Regions from separate parts of the Homo sapiens genome. Here all the other regions are linked to region 1. Evidence: promoter capture Hi-C in 16 types of primary human blood cells and fetal thymus (Javierre and others, 2016). All regions are on one chromosome and are shown on one strand. The core of a region is centred on a gene start or on the middle of the fragment in contact, and the rest is flanking DNA. Distances in the headings are between cores, read along the strand shown. Region 1 holds the start of PTMS (parathymosin). Region 2 overlaps CHD4 (chromodomain helicase DNA binding protein 4). Region 3 overlaps LRRC23 (leucine rich repeat containing 23). Region 4 overlaps LPCAT3 (lysophosphatidylcholine acyltransferase 3). Region 5 overlaps ATN1 (atrophin 1).

Region 1 (2,700 bases), core at 201-2,700:
CACTCGCTGGATTTCAGACATACAAAGACACCTACTCAGTGAAGTCACATGCCACCGCACAGCCCGCCGGAGGGCCACACGGGCGCACCTTGGCAGATCGCACACAGCCCCTCTCCCACCGCCGTTAATCCCATTGGCTCCCCCCGTTTCACTCCGCGGGCCTCCGGGAGACCTGTGTGACGGCCCCTCAGCAACCACCGCGCCCCCCCCCCCCGCCATACACATACACACACAAGATAGGGCTCCCAGCCCCCAAACCCCGGCCGCGTTAATTTCCCAAAGCGACACTCCGCAGGTTCCCTGGGGAAATTAGAGGAAGGCTGGAAGAGAGGCAAGGGCGAACGGATGGGGCCGGGGAAGGGAGCTGATGAGGGCGAGGACAGCTCGACGCAATGCCATGCAATGCCCAGCCTCGGCTTTTTCGAAGGCTAGTCCTGCCCCGCTTCTAATTTTTAGGAATTCGAGATTCTTTCAGTGTGTATGCGGGAAGGGGACGATGAAGAGAAAAGAAAGCTGAAAGCCAGCTGAGGGGAGGGAACGAGAAAACAGAGGCGGCCGCCGTCCGGGGAGAGAAGCGAGCGACGGTCGGGCCGCGGGGAGGGGCCCGGAGGAGCAGCCTCCAGGGAGAGTCCTGTTTACACTTGAGGATCTCAAACCGCTTAGCGAGGAAAGGTGAGGTCAGGTTGCAAGCAAAGACGCGGCAGCGGGGCGCAGGGAGGGGGCGCGGCAAAGTGAGACTCGGGGCGTTCGGACGGGAAGCCGGACGGGATCCGGTCAGCGAGGTGGGGCCGAAGAGGGGTGGGGACGGCTGCGGGGGACGGCGCGACCGGAGCGGCGAGGCCGGGCGCCGTGGTGCGCGCAGGGCAGCTAGAGGGCGCTGGCGCTAGCCGCGCGGAGCCGGGAAAGGAGCTCCGGGCCGGGGAGCGGTGGGAGGGCGCAGTGGGGTCCGCCAGGACCCGGGCGCAAGGGCCGCGCGGGGCCGTCGGGGGCGGCCTGGGGCGAAGGACCGCGCCGGGCCCCAGGGCTGCGCGAGGTCCGGGCCGCCGCCGCCCCCGCCCGTACCTTGGCGCTCAACTCGGCCGCTGCCTCCACGCTTTTCTCCGACATGGTGCCGGGGCCGGGGCCGGGGCTGGCGGGGAGCCGGGGTCCCGGGGCCGAGACGGAGGGGCCCTGGACGGCGGAGGGTGGCCGCGGCCGGAACCTGGCGCGGTGGCGGCGGCGGCGGCGACAGCGGCAGCGGCGGCCGCTCGGCAAGCTGGGTCTCTGGAAGAGGCGGCAGAGGCGCGCGGGGTGGGGCGGGGGTGGGTCTGGAGCGGAGACCCGCAGGGCTGCGGCCGTCCGGAGGGCGGGCGGAAGGGCGGTGCAGGCGGTGGCCGGCGCGCTCGGCCGCGGTAGCTCGATCCCGGGCTCGCCGCCCCCGCACCAGCAGAGCTGCCGCCGACCAGCCGCTGCCGCCCCCGGGAAGGGAACCCGCTTATAAGGCGGCGCTGCCCGACGGGAGGGGCTTCCCAGGGGTGGGGCAGGCGGGAGCGGGGAGGAGAGGAGAGGGGAGGGGGATGAAAGAGGAGGTTGGAGAGGTGGGGATAGGAGGATGAAAGCGAGGGGAGGGAGAGCTAGGGAGTCGGGAGGGAGGACGAGACCAGGAGGGGGAAATGGAGAGACTGACGGCCGCGGAGAAAGAGTGGGGCGAGGAGGTGGGAAGGGGTGGGGTTCCTGCGGGGAGGCACCTTTCCAAATCCCAACCTACTGCCTGCGAATGTGGAGTCTGGCTTTTGGGGGCGGACTGGAGAGGTGGCCAGAATCCTACTGACCCCAAAAAAAGCCCTGGGATTTTGCCAAGGGGTGGGGTGAGGGGAGCAGATGGGAAGATAGGGCAGGTATTTGAGAAACCAAAAGCTTAAAGAAGAGGAAGAGGGTTCGGGCGCTCCTTCCACACCACGCCGGATTTCCCCCTCTCATCCTCCATCCACATTCTCTGGATGGCCTTGAGGAGGGATGGGAGGGCAGAAAGGGCGGCCCAGCCTTCTGTCCCGCCAGATTGACACTTGTGACCCTTGCCGGGTGCCTCCCTTCCTGGCCCCGTGCTGTGAGCCGGGGGGAGTCAGGCCCCCTGGTCTCCTTTGCTGTCTTCCAGCTCTCTTCCATCTTCTACCTCTCTTATTCGCCCGTCTCACCTCACTTTTATTCGCCTGGTCCTTCTATTTCTCTTCATCCGTCCTCAGTCATCTGTACCTAGACCCCTCCTTCACAACCAATTATAACTCGAATCGCTCCCATTCTTCTCTCACCTCTTCTCCACTCCTCACTGACTCTCTTCTGCCCTTCCACCTCTGGTCTCTTTCCCTATCTTTCCCAGACAACCCTGCTCTTGTCTTATCTGAGTCAGGCACCTGGCCCTCTATTCTTGGCTGGCTTTCCTCAACTCCTCTTTCTGTCCTCATTTTTTACATTTTCCATCCTTCAGCTTTTCTCATTCCTCTGCTGCCATCTTCCCTAGCCTTTCTGGGTTATATTTGCCTCCTTTGCAAATATAATACAGGTCCAGGTCTGGAGTTCCAGCCCCACCCTATTCCACACATCCTCAGCTCCTCGCCCTCAATCTCGGTATCTTTGAGTCATTTTGAAAAGCTTGGGATTTCAGAAGGGAACAGGGGCTGGGTTGTGTATTAAAGGTCAGGAAGGTGGACAGAGTGGAAGGCT
Region 2 (2,700 bases), core at 39-2,538, 180 kb after region 1:
GCTCAAGTGATTCTCCTGCCTCAGCTTCCTGAGTAGCTGGGACTACAGGCGTGTGCCACCATTCCCAGCTAAATTTTTTTTTTTTTTTGAGATGGAGTTTCTTGCTCTGTTGCCCAGGCTAAAGTGCAGTGGTGCAATCTCTGCTCACTGCAACCTCTGCCTACCAGGTTCAAGCGGTTCTCCTGCCTCAGTCTCCTGAGTAGCTGGGATTACAGGTGTATACCACCACGCCTGGCTAATTTTTGTATTTTTAGTAGAGACAGGGTTTCACCGTGTTGGCCAGGCTGGTCTCGAACTCCTGATGTCAAATGATCCACCTGTCTCTGCCTCCCAAAGTGCTGAGATTACAGGCATGAGCCACTGCCCCCGGCTTAATTTTTTAAACTACATTTATGAATTGGAATTTAGGAGACACTTCTAATGGTGTTTTTGGTTCTTTTATTAGCACCGGGTGCTCAGCAGTTCTGCTTCTTGCTTTCCACTCGAGCTGGGGGCCTTGGAATCAATCTGGCCACTGCTGACACAGTTATTATCTATGACTCTGACTGGAACCCCCATAATGACATTCAGGTGAGCAGAGGCAGCAGGCAGCCTTAATAAGTAACATGTTATGCTAGAAAGGCATAGTGGCCTCTATGAGGGCTCCACCATCTGGAATTAGGTTTTTAAGTGAGAAACAACAGATTCTTTTTGTGTTGTTTACCTTATTGTAAGCCAGAGTTTGGTTAGCTGTGATCCTATTTTGGGTAACATGATAATAGAGGGTGGTGTCTGGAGGCAGGGGTGCAAAAGGAAGTTTCCTATGAATGTAGGCTGTGGACCTTGCCTTGTACTGAATTTAGAATATTATGTGGAAGTCAGGATAAGAGTGGCACCAGGAAAATACAATTTCTGGCTTTATTTCCTGTTCAACTCCAGGCCTTTAGCAGAGCTCACCGGATTGGGCAAAATAAAAAGGTAATGATCTACCGGTTTGTGACCCGTGCGTCAGTGGAGGAGCGCATCACGCAGGTGGCAAAGAAGAAAATGATGCTGACGCATCTAGTGGTGCGGCCTGGGCTGGGCTCCAAGACTGGATCTATGTCCAAACAGGAGCTTGATGATATCCTCAAATTTGGCACTGAGGAACTATTCAAGGATGAAGCCACTGATGGAGGTGAGGTAGTCAGGAACTTACGTTTTGGTGTGGGGCTTGGCCTCTCTAAAGGTTAGGGAGAATCTTTGATACCAAGGGTCTTGTGGGACTTGCTTTTTCCACTGCAGCTGCTGAAACTGACTTTGGGGATGTGGGCCCTTGATTTTTTATAGGAGGAGACAACAAAGAGGGAGAAGATAGCAGTGTTATCCACTACGATGATAAGGCCATTGAACGGCTGCTAGACCGTAACCAGGATGAGACTGAAGACACAGAATTGCAGGGCATGAATGAATATTTGAGCTCATTCAAAGTGGCCCAGTATGTGGTACGGGAAGAAGAAATGGGGGTGAGTATGAATCCAAGGCAATCCTGTGCTTGGTAATTGGTCTGAAAATTGGCATTGAGACCAAGGTGGTATTTGAGACAAGTGGAAAATATCTGTAGGCAAATTCTTATGTTGATGAATTGATCCTCTTCCTTTGAAAACAAAGCTGATAACATGACTAATCAGATTTTCATCTTTGCCTTGGTTGTCAGAAAACTTACAACCAAATATCATGCTCACAACAGTTATTTTGGCTCTTTACCAGAATGTCATTTTCTCCTATGTGTTTTATTAAACCTTACAAATGAAATTTTGAATGCTACCTCATCTCTCTAGAGAAAAGGCAGAAGATCCTAGGTAATCTATCTCTTTGTGTTTTCTGGTTTTTATTTAAGAGACAGGGTCTCTACCAGGTGCAGTGGCTCACATCTGTAATCCCAGCACTTTGGGAGGCCGAGGCAGGCAGATCACTTGAGGCCAGGAGTTTGAGACCAGCCCGGCCAACACGGTGAAACCCCGTTTCTACTAAAAATAAAAAAATTAGCCAGGCACGATGAAGCACACCTGTAGTCCCAGGTGTTCGGGAGGCTGAGGCAGGAGAATTGCTTGAACCCAGGAGGCGGAGGTTGCAATGAGCTGAGATTGCGCCACTGCATTCCAGCCTGATGACAGAGCCAGACTGTGTTTGAAAAAAAAAAACAACAAAAAAAGAGACAGGGTCTTGCTCTGTCACCCAGGCTAGAGTGCAGTGGCACAATCATAGCTGAGTGCAACCTTAAACTCTTGGGCTGAAGAGTGACCCTAGTAGATGTGTGCTACCACACCTGGTTAATTTTTTAAATGTTTTTAGAGATGTCTTGCTATGTTGCCCAGGATGGTCTTGAACTCCTGGCCTTAAGCAGTTCTCCTGCCTTGACCTCCCAAAGTGCTGGAATTACAGGTGTTAGCCACCACACCAGGCCTCCTTGTGTATGTATGTATGTATGTATTTATTTATTTATTTTGAGATGGAATCTCACTCTCTCCCCCAGGCTGGAGTGCAGTGGTGCGATCTTGGCTCACTGCAAGCTCTGCCTCCCGGGTTCATGCCATTCTTCTGCCTCAGCCTCCCGAGTAGCTGGGGACTACAGGTGCCTGCCTCCACACCCAGCTAATTTTTTTTGTATTTTTAGTAGAGATGGGGTTTCACTGTGTTAGCCAGGATGGTCTCGATCTCCTGACCTTGTGATCCACCCAC
Region 3 (2,700 bases), core at 61-2,560, 140 kb before region 1:
GAATTCCTGGGCTCAAGTGATCCTCTCACCTTAGCTTCCTAAGTACCTCCAGGCATGTGCCACCACACCTGGCTAATGTTTAAATTTTTTGTAGAGACTGGGTCTCACTATGTTGCCCAGGTTTGTCTTGAACGCCTGGCCTCAAGCAGTCCTCTTGCCTTGGCCCCCCCAAAGTGCTGGGATTACAGGCGTGAGCCACCATGCCTGGAATTTTATTTATTTTCATGTTCTGGCTTTAAGCTTTTATGAAATCTATTTAAGTGTTTCAGCCTGATCTCATGGTCGTGCTGAGCCTCATGCAGTGTTTCTCACCAGGAGGGCTACAGGAACTTTGTACTGGACTCTGCCATACATTGTTGGATGCTTAGCATCTCTGGCCCCAGAGGCACCTGCCAATCATTGAGACACCCTCACCCCCCTCCACACACACACCCGACTTACTCTCAAAACATCCCCATTTAATAGCCACTCAGGAAGGGTCCATCATGCCTGTCTAGATCATTAACAGGAAGATGGCACAGATACACACCCCACCAGATCCGTGTGGCAGAGTTCATGAATAAGAGAATGCCCAGGGGGTCAGGATGAGAGTTGGGGCTTCCAGATGCAACCACCTCTCCCTACTTGGAGATGCTCTTTCCATTACCAGCTCAAGAATCTGGTCTTGTTGACTAAGGAAAGAGGCAGTTTCCTTACATGTTTGCTGAAATAAACACACATAAAGTCCTCCATCCGACAAGAGTTGCTGATCTTCAGTGCCTTTCTACCAAAAGATTTTCTTACAAATGTCCTTCTCTCCTCAAATCTGAGCACATCTTGTGTTTTTTTAATCAGTAAAAAGGTCATCCCTTACAGGTGGGGCTCAGGAGAAGAGAGGCAGGAAATGGGAAGGTGAATTGGGACCGAGGAAATGGAGAAGGGCAGTGGAAACTTATATAGGATAGGGTGAGGAAAAAAGAGTTGGAGCCAGACTGTGAGCCCCTTAGGAACAGGAATCACCTCTGATTCCTTTCTTTCTTTTAGAGACAGCTCACTCTGTCACCCAGGCTGGAGTGCAGTGGCACAATCATGGCTCACTGCAACCTTGAACTCCTGGGCTCAAGTGATCCTCCAACCTCAGCCTCCTGAGTAGCTGAAACCACAGGTGTGCACCACCAGGCTCAGTTAATTTTTATTTTTAATTTAATATTTTAATTTTTATTTAATATTTTATTTTTGTTTTGTTTTTGAGGCAGGGTCTGGCTCTGTCACCCAGGCTGGAGTGCAGCGGCTTTATCTCAGCTCACTGCAAACTCCACCTCGAGGCTCCAGCGATCCTCCCGCCTAAGTCTCCTGAGTAGCTGGGATTACAGGTGCCTGTCACCATGCCTGGCTAATTTTTGTATTTTTGGTAGAGATGGGATTTTGCCATGTTGCCCAGACTGGTCTTGAACTCCTAGGCTCCAACGATCTGCCCACTTCGGCTTCCCAAAGTGCTAGAACTACAGGTGTGAGCCACCATGCCGGGCCATTATTTTCACTTCTGTAGAAACATGGTCTCACTAGGTTGCCCAGGCTGGTCCTGAACTCCTGGCCTCAAGTGATCCTTCCTCCTAAAGTGCTGGGAGTACAGGCATGAACCACCATGCCCAGCCTCTGATTGCTTTAAATGTCCCCAAAACACAGCACAAGGCCTGGCACATAGCACATTCTCAATAATTGTGGATTGAATGAATAAAAATTCAGGGGTCACAAGCTATAAGGGATTTAGTGTTGCAACTCAGTGCAGAAGAAAGGAAGGAAAGCCGGGCTTTCCTTGAGAATCCAGCTGTGGGCTAGGACTGGGGGATTGGGCCAGGGAAGAACACAGACTCAAAAGCTGCACCTGGTCAGGGGTAGGGGCAAGGTGGGGCTTGGAGAGGGTGCATACCTCAGGTTGAGGTACTGCAATGATTTCATTTCTCTGGAGAAGCCACTCAGGGTGTCAATCTGGTTGTCTCGAAGATGCAAGGTGGTGAGATTGCTCAGATCCTCCAAGCCTTCCACCTTCTTCAGCATGTTTTGGGCCTAGACCCCCAGGGCACAGTGGATTGATTGAGAGGGAGCAGGGATAGGGAAGAAAGAGAAGTCAGAATGAGATAAAGCAAAAGAGGAAATCCAAGAGGTAGAGAGGGAGGAGTGGAAGAAAGGAGTGGGGGTGAGTAGAGATCAGTATAGAAAGTAAAGAAGTTCAGGAGAAGCTGCCATCCCAGAGAAAGGTCAGCAGTAACCCTCTACCATTCGCCCCATCAAAGCCACTTGGGATGGAGGAGATGCTTCAACCCACCCCTACCCGGCCCAGGAGCCCCCAGGCCACCACTGAGGATTGGCATCAGCACCATCCCAGAATAACGAAGCTTAAGAGTCTAAAAGACTAAATATTTCAGTGGCTTCCTGTGGAGTTATTATATATATAATATATAATATATTATATAATATATAAAATATATATTATATATTATATATTATATACTATTATATATAATATTTATATATTATATATAATATACTATTATATATAATATTTATATATTATATAAAATATATTATATATAATATACTATTATATATATTTATATATTATATATATTATATATAATATATACTATTATATATATTTATGTATTATATATAATTATATATAATATATTATATATAATTATATATAATATATAATTATAT
Region 4 (2,700 bases), core at 201-2,700, 240 kb before region 1:
CTCAGCCTCCTGAGTAGCTGGAACTACAGGCGTGAGCCACCATGCCTGGCTAATTTTTTCTGTATTTTTTGTAGAAACAGGGTTTTACCGTGTTGCCCAGGGTGGTCTCAAACTCCTGAGCTCAAGCAATCCACCAGCCTCAGCCTCCCAAAGTGCTGAGATTACAGGCATAAGCCATTGCCCCTGGCCAAGAATTTCTTTTAAATACAATTTTCCAGGTCAGGCACGGTGGCTTACGCCTGTAACCCCAGCACTTTGGGAGGCCAAAGCAAGAGGATCACTTGAGTCCGGGAGTTCAAGACCAGCCTGGGCAACATAGTGATACCTCATCTCTACAAAAAGTGAACAAAATTAACTGGGCTGGGTGGCATATGTCTGTAGTCCCTGCTGCTTGGGAGGCTGAGGTGGAAGGATCACTGGAGCCCGGGGTCCTCCGCTCAACTCAGGACGTTGAGGCTGCATTGAGCCAAGATCATACCTCTACACTCCAGCATGGGCAAAAGAGCAAGATTCTGTCTCAAAAATAAATAAATAAATTTTGTTTTTAATTAGCCAGGCATGATGGCATGCACCTGTAGTCCCAGCTATTCAGGAGACCAAGGTGGGAGGATCATTTGAGCCCAGGAATTTGAGACTGCAGTGAACTATGATGATGCCACTGCATTCCAACCTAGATGACAGAAGGAGACCTCATCTCTAAAAATAAATATATATATTTTTTCCAACCACTTTTTATCTATACCCCAATGTCTTACATTCCATAAAACATCATGTTTTGAATTCCAGTATAACTTTATCGTTAAACATGTTTCTTTGCAGAAGCATGTATAAGTTAGGGTCCACAAGATTATTTGCATAAGCTAATTTACAAAAAAAATTATATAATCACTGACATGAAAGCATGTCTGGGCAGCCATGGGAGCTCATATGAGGCGTCCAGTTCAGTCGCCTTTTAAAAATGATATTTGCATTAGCTGGGCATGGTAGCATGTGTCTGTAGTCCCAGCTACTCAGGGGACTGAAGTGAGAGGATGCACCAGAGCCCCAGAAGTCAAGGCTGCAGTGAGCCATGATCACATCACTGCACCAGCCTGGGCAACAGGAGTGAGGCCTTGTCTCAGTCAGTCAATCAATCAATCAATAATGGTATTTGGTCTTCTGAAAGAAAGTGACATTTTAGCTGGGCCTTAAAGGGGATGGTAAGATTCTAGTAAAGTAGAGATGAAAGCGGAGGAGCTTTCCAGCTACAAAGAGTAATCTGGAGATCAGGAAGAGTAAGACCCTGTCTGTCCCTGAATCTAAGGAAAAAGAAAAAAAAATTTTGAGAAAAATCTGAGGAACAGCAAGTAGTCCTCTTTAACCAGAACAATAGAAGATCGTAAAAGAGCAGTAGAGAAAAACATGATAGGCCTTTTATGTAGGTGGAGGTCAATGACAGAGTAAGGTAGTAACATGTGCATTGTCTTTAGAGATCTTCTGGCCTAGGTTCAAATGCTGGATCAAATAAATATGTACTAGCTGTTTCACCATAAGCTCATTACCAGAGTTCAACCACCCATTTCTTTATATTCCCACAGGCCAATTTTACTAAAGAATTGCAATGAAGAGTTAAGCAATTTATCTGATAAATATTTTTAGATTTATATTTCATTCATAACTAGCAGCAGTATTTTGAAACAGAATACAAAATTTATATGAATTTTTAAAGTAATACAGTCATCAAAGAAATTTTCTATTTCTAGAAGACTGCTTAGGCATACTCTTTTGTGATGTGTTCATTCTCCTTTGGCCTGGAAAAGTTTGAGAACTGTTGCTCATTGGGATGTTGTAAGGACTAAATAAGATAAACTATGTAAACACTTAACCATGCTTGACCCAAGATCATCTTAAATAATTGTTCTTCCCTTCCCTGTCAATAAATATTTATTTTCTCCCTTTCCAAGGAGACACAAAGTATGGTCTTGTGACCAACAGCATCTGTATCTTATGGGAGCCTGTTAGAAATGCAGATTCTTTGGTCTACTCCAAAACTACTGATTGAGAAACTCTGAGGATAGTGCCCAGTAATCTGTTCTAGCAAGCCAGGTTATACTTATTACTCTAGAGTTTGAGGATTACTAATTTAGCATATTTCTTCCGGTGCCTATTTTGTAGTACTTGATGTCCTGATAGTACCTTTTTGGAATGTCATTGGCCAGGCGCGGTGGCTCACGCCTGTAATCCCAGCACTTTGGGAGGCCGAGGCAGGCAGATCACCTGAGGTCAGGAGTTGGAGACTAGCCTGGCCAACATGGTGAAACCCATTTCTATTAAAAAGATAAAAATTAGCTGGGCATGGTGGCACATGCCTGTAGTCCCAGCTACTTGGGAAGCTGAGACAGGATAATCGCTGGAACCCAGGAGGCAGAGGTTGTAGTGAGCCGAGATTGCACCATGGCACTCCAGCCTGGGTGACAGAAAAAAAAAGAAAGGTCATTGTATCCTGTACTCTTTGGAATAAACAAAACTCTTAGATTCCTTATGGTTTAGTTTTTCCCATTTGTAGGCCTGACAGATAGGAAAGTTGGGCCTACAAAAATTGAGTAACTTGCTTAAAGTCACATTCAGTTCTGCCTGACTCCAGAGTTCCTGCTCTGGATGTTATCTGAGGAATAAAGAGATGTTGTTGTTATTATGTTCACATTGTTATTATGTTCACAT
Region 5 (2,700 bases), core at 130-2,629, 170 kb before region 1:
GACTAGCCCAACCTCACACAGTGAGGAACCAGTGACAGAGCCAGAATCAAACCCATGTCGGTGACTTCAAAGCCCATGCTCTTTCTTCTATACTTTGCTGTATTCTCCTCAGAAGTTGCTGGGGAGAATTCTCAGAAGGCCTAGATCAGTCACAGAGATATGAAAAGAATCTTTTCTCACATCAGAGTAGGTAGAAGAAGAATGTCCCATTCTATAATACAAAGGAACACAGCCCTACCAATCCCAAGACTAAACCTAGGTAGCCCCAAATTGTAGAACTTCATTTTTGAGAGCCCCATAAAGGACCCATTCTCTAGTACTTGAGCTCCCTAAGGCTAGAGGAAAAGTCAGGGTTTTCACATGAATGATTAAAGACTCAAAATATCCGTGAGCAAACAACACAGATGTACCAGTTTTTAAGCCTATCCTCCTACTTGGTGTAGACTGGGTTACACAGTTTCTCACAGCCAATCCATCCGTATCTGTCTATCAGCAGGTATCTATCTTTATCCAAATCCCTATAGCCAGCTGTATTCATTTGCACTTGTTTGTATTTCTTGCTAAGTGTCAAGTCCCTCCAAATTACTGATTGTAAGATCTTTTGAGAGCAAAAATGGTATTTTCTTACTGTTTTCTTCCTTTCCACTGATGTGTGTGCGCTCTTCTTGTGATTGACCTTTAAACCCACTAACATCAGTAGGTCTTTCTTCCTGAATTAAGTGCTGCTAGCTCCAGTGGGAACAGACTAAGCTTACCCATGTATTCTATTCTGAGTTGGAGGCCTGCTAGGTAAACGGCATGTCCATATTCTGTAGTGTATTTTTTCCCAAGAAACACAGTAATTCTCACTCACCTCCACGGAACCATACTGATGCAGGCAGTAAGGGGTGAGTCTAACCTTTCCAGGAAACTTCACAATTTACTTAGAATCACAAAATTGCTGGGACAGAGCCTATCTTCTGAACTTTCAACTGATGCTCTGCCCAGTAGACTTGTCTTTTTTTTTTTTTTTTTTTTTTTTTTTGAGACAGAGTTTCACTCTTGTTGCCCAGGCTGGAGTGCAGTGGCGTGATCTCACTCACTGCAACCTCTGCCTCCCAGGTTCAAGCGATTCTCCTGCCTCAGCCTCCTGAATAGCTGGGATTACAGGCATGCACCACCACACCCGGCTAATTTTTTGTATTTTTAGTAGAGACAGGGTTTCACCATGTTAGTCAGGGTGGTCTCGAACTACTGACCTCAGGTGATCTGCCTGCCTCGGCCTTCCCAAGTGCTGGGATTACAGGCGTGAGCCACTGTGCCCGGCCAACTAGTTTTCTTTTTTTTTCCTTTTTTTTTTTTTTGAGATGGATCTTTGCTCTTGTTCCCCAGGCTGGAGGTGCTATGGCATGATCTCAGCTCACTGCCACCTCCGCCTCCCAGGTTCAAGCGATTCTCCTGCCTCAGCCTCCCAAGTAGCTGGGATTACAAGCGCACACCACCACACCTGGCTAATTTTTGTATTTTTAGTAGAGACGGAGTTTCACCATGTTGACCAGGCTGGTCTCGAACTCCTGACCTCAGATGATCCACCTGCCTCAGCCTCCTAAAGTGTTGGGATTACAGGCGTGAGCCACCATGCCCGGCCTTTTTTTTTTTTTTTTTTTTTTCAACTACAGCTATTTTCCCACATTTTTTAGTTGTTATGTAGACTGGTTTTAAAATACTATCAACCAAAAAAAAAAAAAAATCCGAAGAACAACACCCACCATAGCAAAAGAGGAAAACAATCTTAAACAAAAAGCACAACAAAGATGACTATTTGTGATTGGTGTATTTTTGCCAGCCCTCCTAGAGAAGGGTGTCCATCTCCCTTCCCCATCACAGAACCTGTTCACCAAGTCAGTTAGGTTAGGGGATCCAAAAGGTCAGAGAAACACAGGAATGTACCTGAGGAACACAGCAATCATAGTATGCCCTTCTTTTTTAATCACCTGAAATCTGATAAAAACTAGCAATGAGAAGCTTTGAAGGAGAAAAGCAGTCATAAAAGAACAAGTAATCCTGGGGATAAGGAGTGGCAGACGAGGAAAGGAGTTAGGGGTGGATTGTGTGTCTTTCTAGACCTGGGTCATGTTTTAGCACCAGCCTACACTCCTAGCAGGCAATCACTGTAACTAATATTACAGAGCACCTACTCTGTATCTGGCCACATACTAAGCACATTCACCTTCATTACCTTGCTTTATTTTATTTATTTATTTATTTATTTATTTATTGAGACGGAGTCTCACTCTGTCACCCAGGCTGGAGTGCCGTGCCGCGATCTCGGCTCGGCTCACTGCAAGCTCCACCTCCCGGGTTCACGCCATTCTCCTGCCTCAGCCTCCTGAGTAGCTGGGACTACAGGCGCCCGCCACCACGCCCGGCTAATTTTTTTGTATTTTTACTAGAGACGGGGTTTCACCGTGTTAGCCAGGATGGTCTCAATCGCCTGACCTCGTGATCCGCCCGCCTCAGCCTCCCAAAGTGCTGGGATTACAGGCGTGAGCCACTGCGCACTGCCATTACCTTACTTTAAAAAGAAAATGATTAAGACCAGACTGGGTTGGGAGGAAAGTGAGAACTAGAAAAAGAGCCCCTAAGTAAGAACAGGAAAAGAAATTAAGAGAGAAATATGGGATGTCAGAAGGAATACAGTGGAGTCACAAGCTCTCTGGG

What was found. Contacts are between HindIII fragments. The CHiCAGO score rates a contact against its expected background, and 5 or more counts as called.
Region 2: a fragment that was not itself captured here is called in contact with the fragment with the promoter of PTMS in region 1 in 9 of 17 cell types (total CD4 T cells, naive CD4 T cells, activated CD4 T cells and 6 more); the score reaches 10.3 in total CD4 T cells.
Region 3: a contact is called between a fragment that was not itself captured here and the fragment with the promoter of PTMS in region 1, in 2 of 17 cell types (activated CD4 T cells and non-activated CD4 T cells). The highest score is 6.2, in activated CD4 T cells.
Region 4: a contact is called between a fragment that was not itself captured here and the fragment with the promoter of PTMS in region 1, in 1 of 17 cell types (non-activated CD4 T cells). The highest score is 5.2, in non-activated CD4 T cells.
Region 5: a fragment that was not itself captured here is called in contact with the fragment with the promoter of PTMS in region 1 in 4 of 17 cell types (activated CD4 T cells, non-activated CD4 T cells, naive CD4 T cells and 1 more); the score reaches 7.3 in activated CD4 T cells.

What each region holds. Positions count from the first base shown.
Region 1 is chr12:6,765,113-6,767,812 of GRCh38, reverse strand. It overlaps PTMS (parathymosin), which reads right to left and starts at 1,450. Exons shown (of 5, transcript NM_002824.6): 1 at 1,063-1,450. The coding sequence starts at 1,107. RefSeq lists silencers at 646-1,145, 1,256-1,585. The HindIII fragment of the contact is 8,838 bases long and covers 1-1,898 here.
Region 2 is chr12:6,586,168-6,588,867 of GRCh38, reverse strand. It overlaps CHD4 (chromodomain helicase DNA binding protein 4), which reads left to right. Exons shown (of 40, transcript NM_001273.5): 23 at 446-570; 24 at 919-1,156; 25 at 1,309-1,484. Among named protein-coding and RNA genes, the nearest start is that of CHD4-AS1, 19 kb to the right of the region's middle. The HindIII fragment of the contact is 7,516 bases long and covers 1-2,700 here.
Region 3 is chr12:6,909,236-6,911,935 of GRCh38, reverse strand. It overlaps LRRC23 (leucine rich repeat containing 23), which reads right to left. Exons shown (of 8, transcript NM_001135217.2): 6 at 1,910-2,046. Among named protein-coding and RNA genes, the nearest start is that of ENO2, 4.0 kb to the left of the region's middle. The HindIII fragment of the contact is 2,135 bases long and covers 243-2,377 here.
Region 4 is chr12:7,008,853-7,011,552 of GRCh38, reverse strand. All of the region lies in intron 1 of LPCAT3 (lysophosphatidylcholine acyltransferase 3), which reads left to right. Among named protein-coding and RNA genes, the nearest start is that of LPCAT3, 8.3 kb to the left of the region's middle. The HindIII fragment of the contact is 3,708 bases long and covers 1-2,700 here.
Region 5 is chr12:6,930,359-6,933,058 of GRCh38, reverse strand. The region is part of intron 1 of ATN1 (atrophin 1); the gene reads right to left. Among named protein-coding and RNA genes, the nearest start is that of ATN1, 3.8 kb to the right of the region's middle. The HindIII fragment of the contact is 1,254 bases long and covers 753-2,006 here.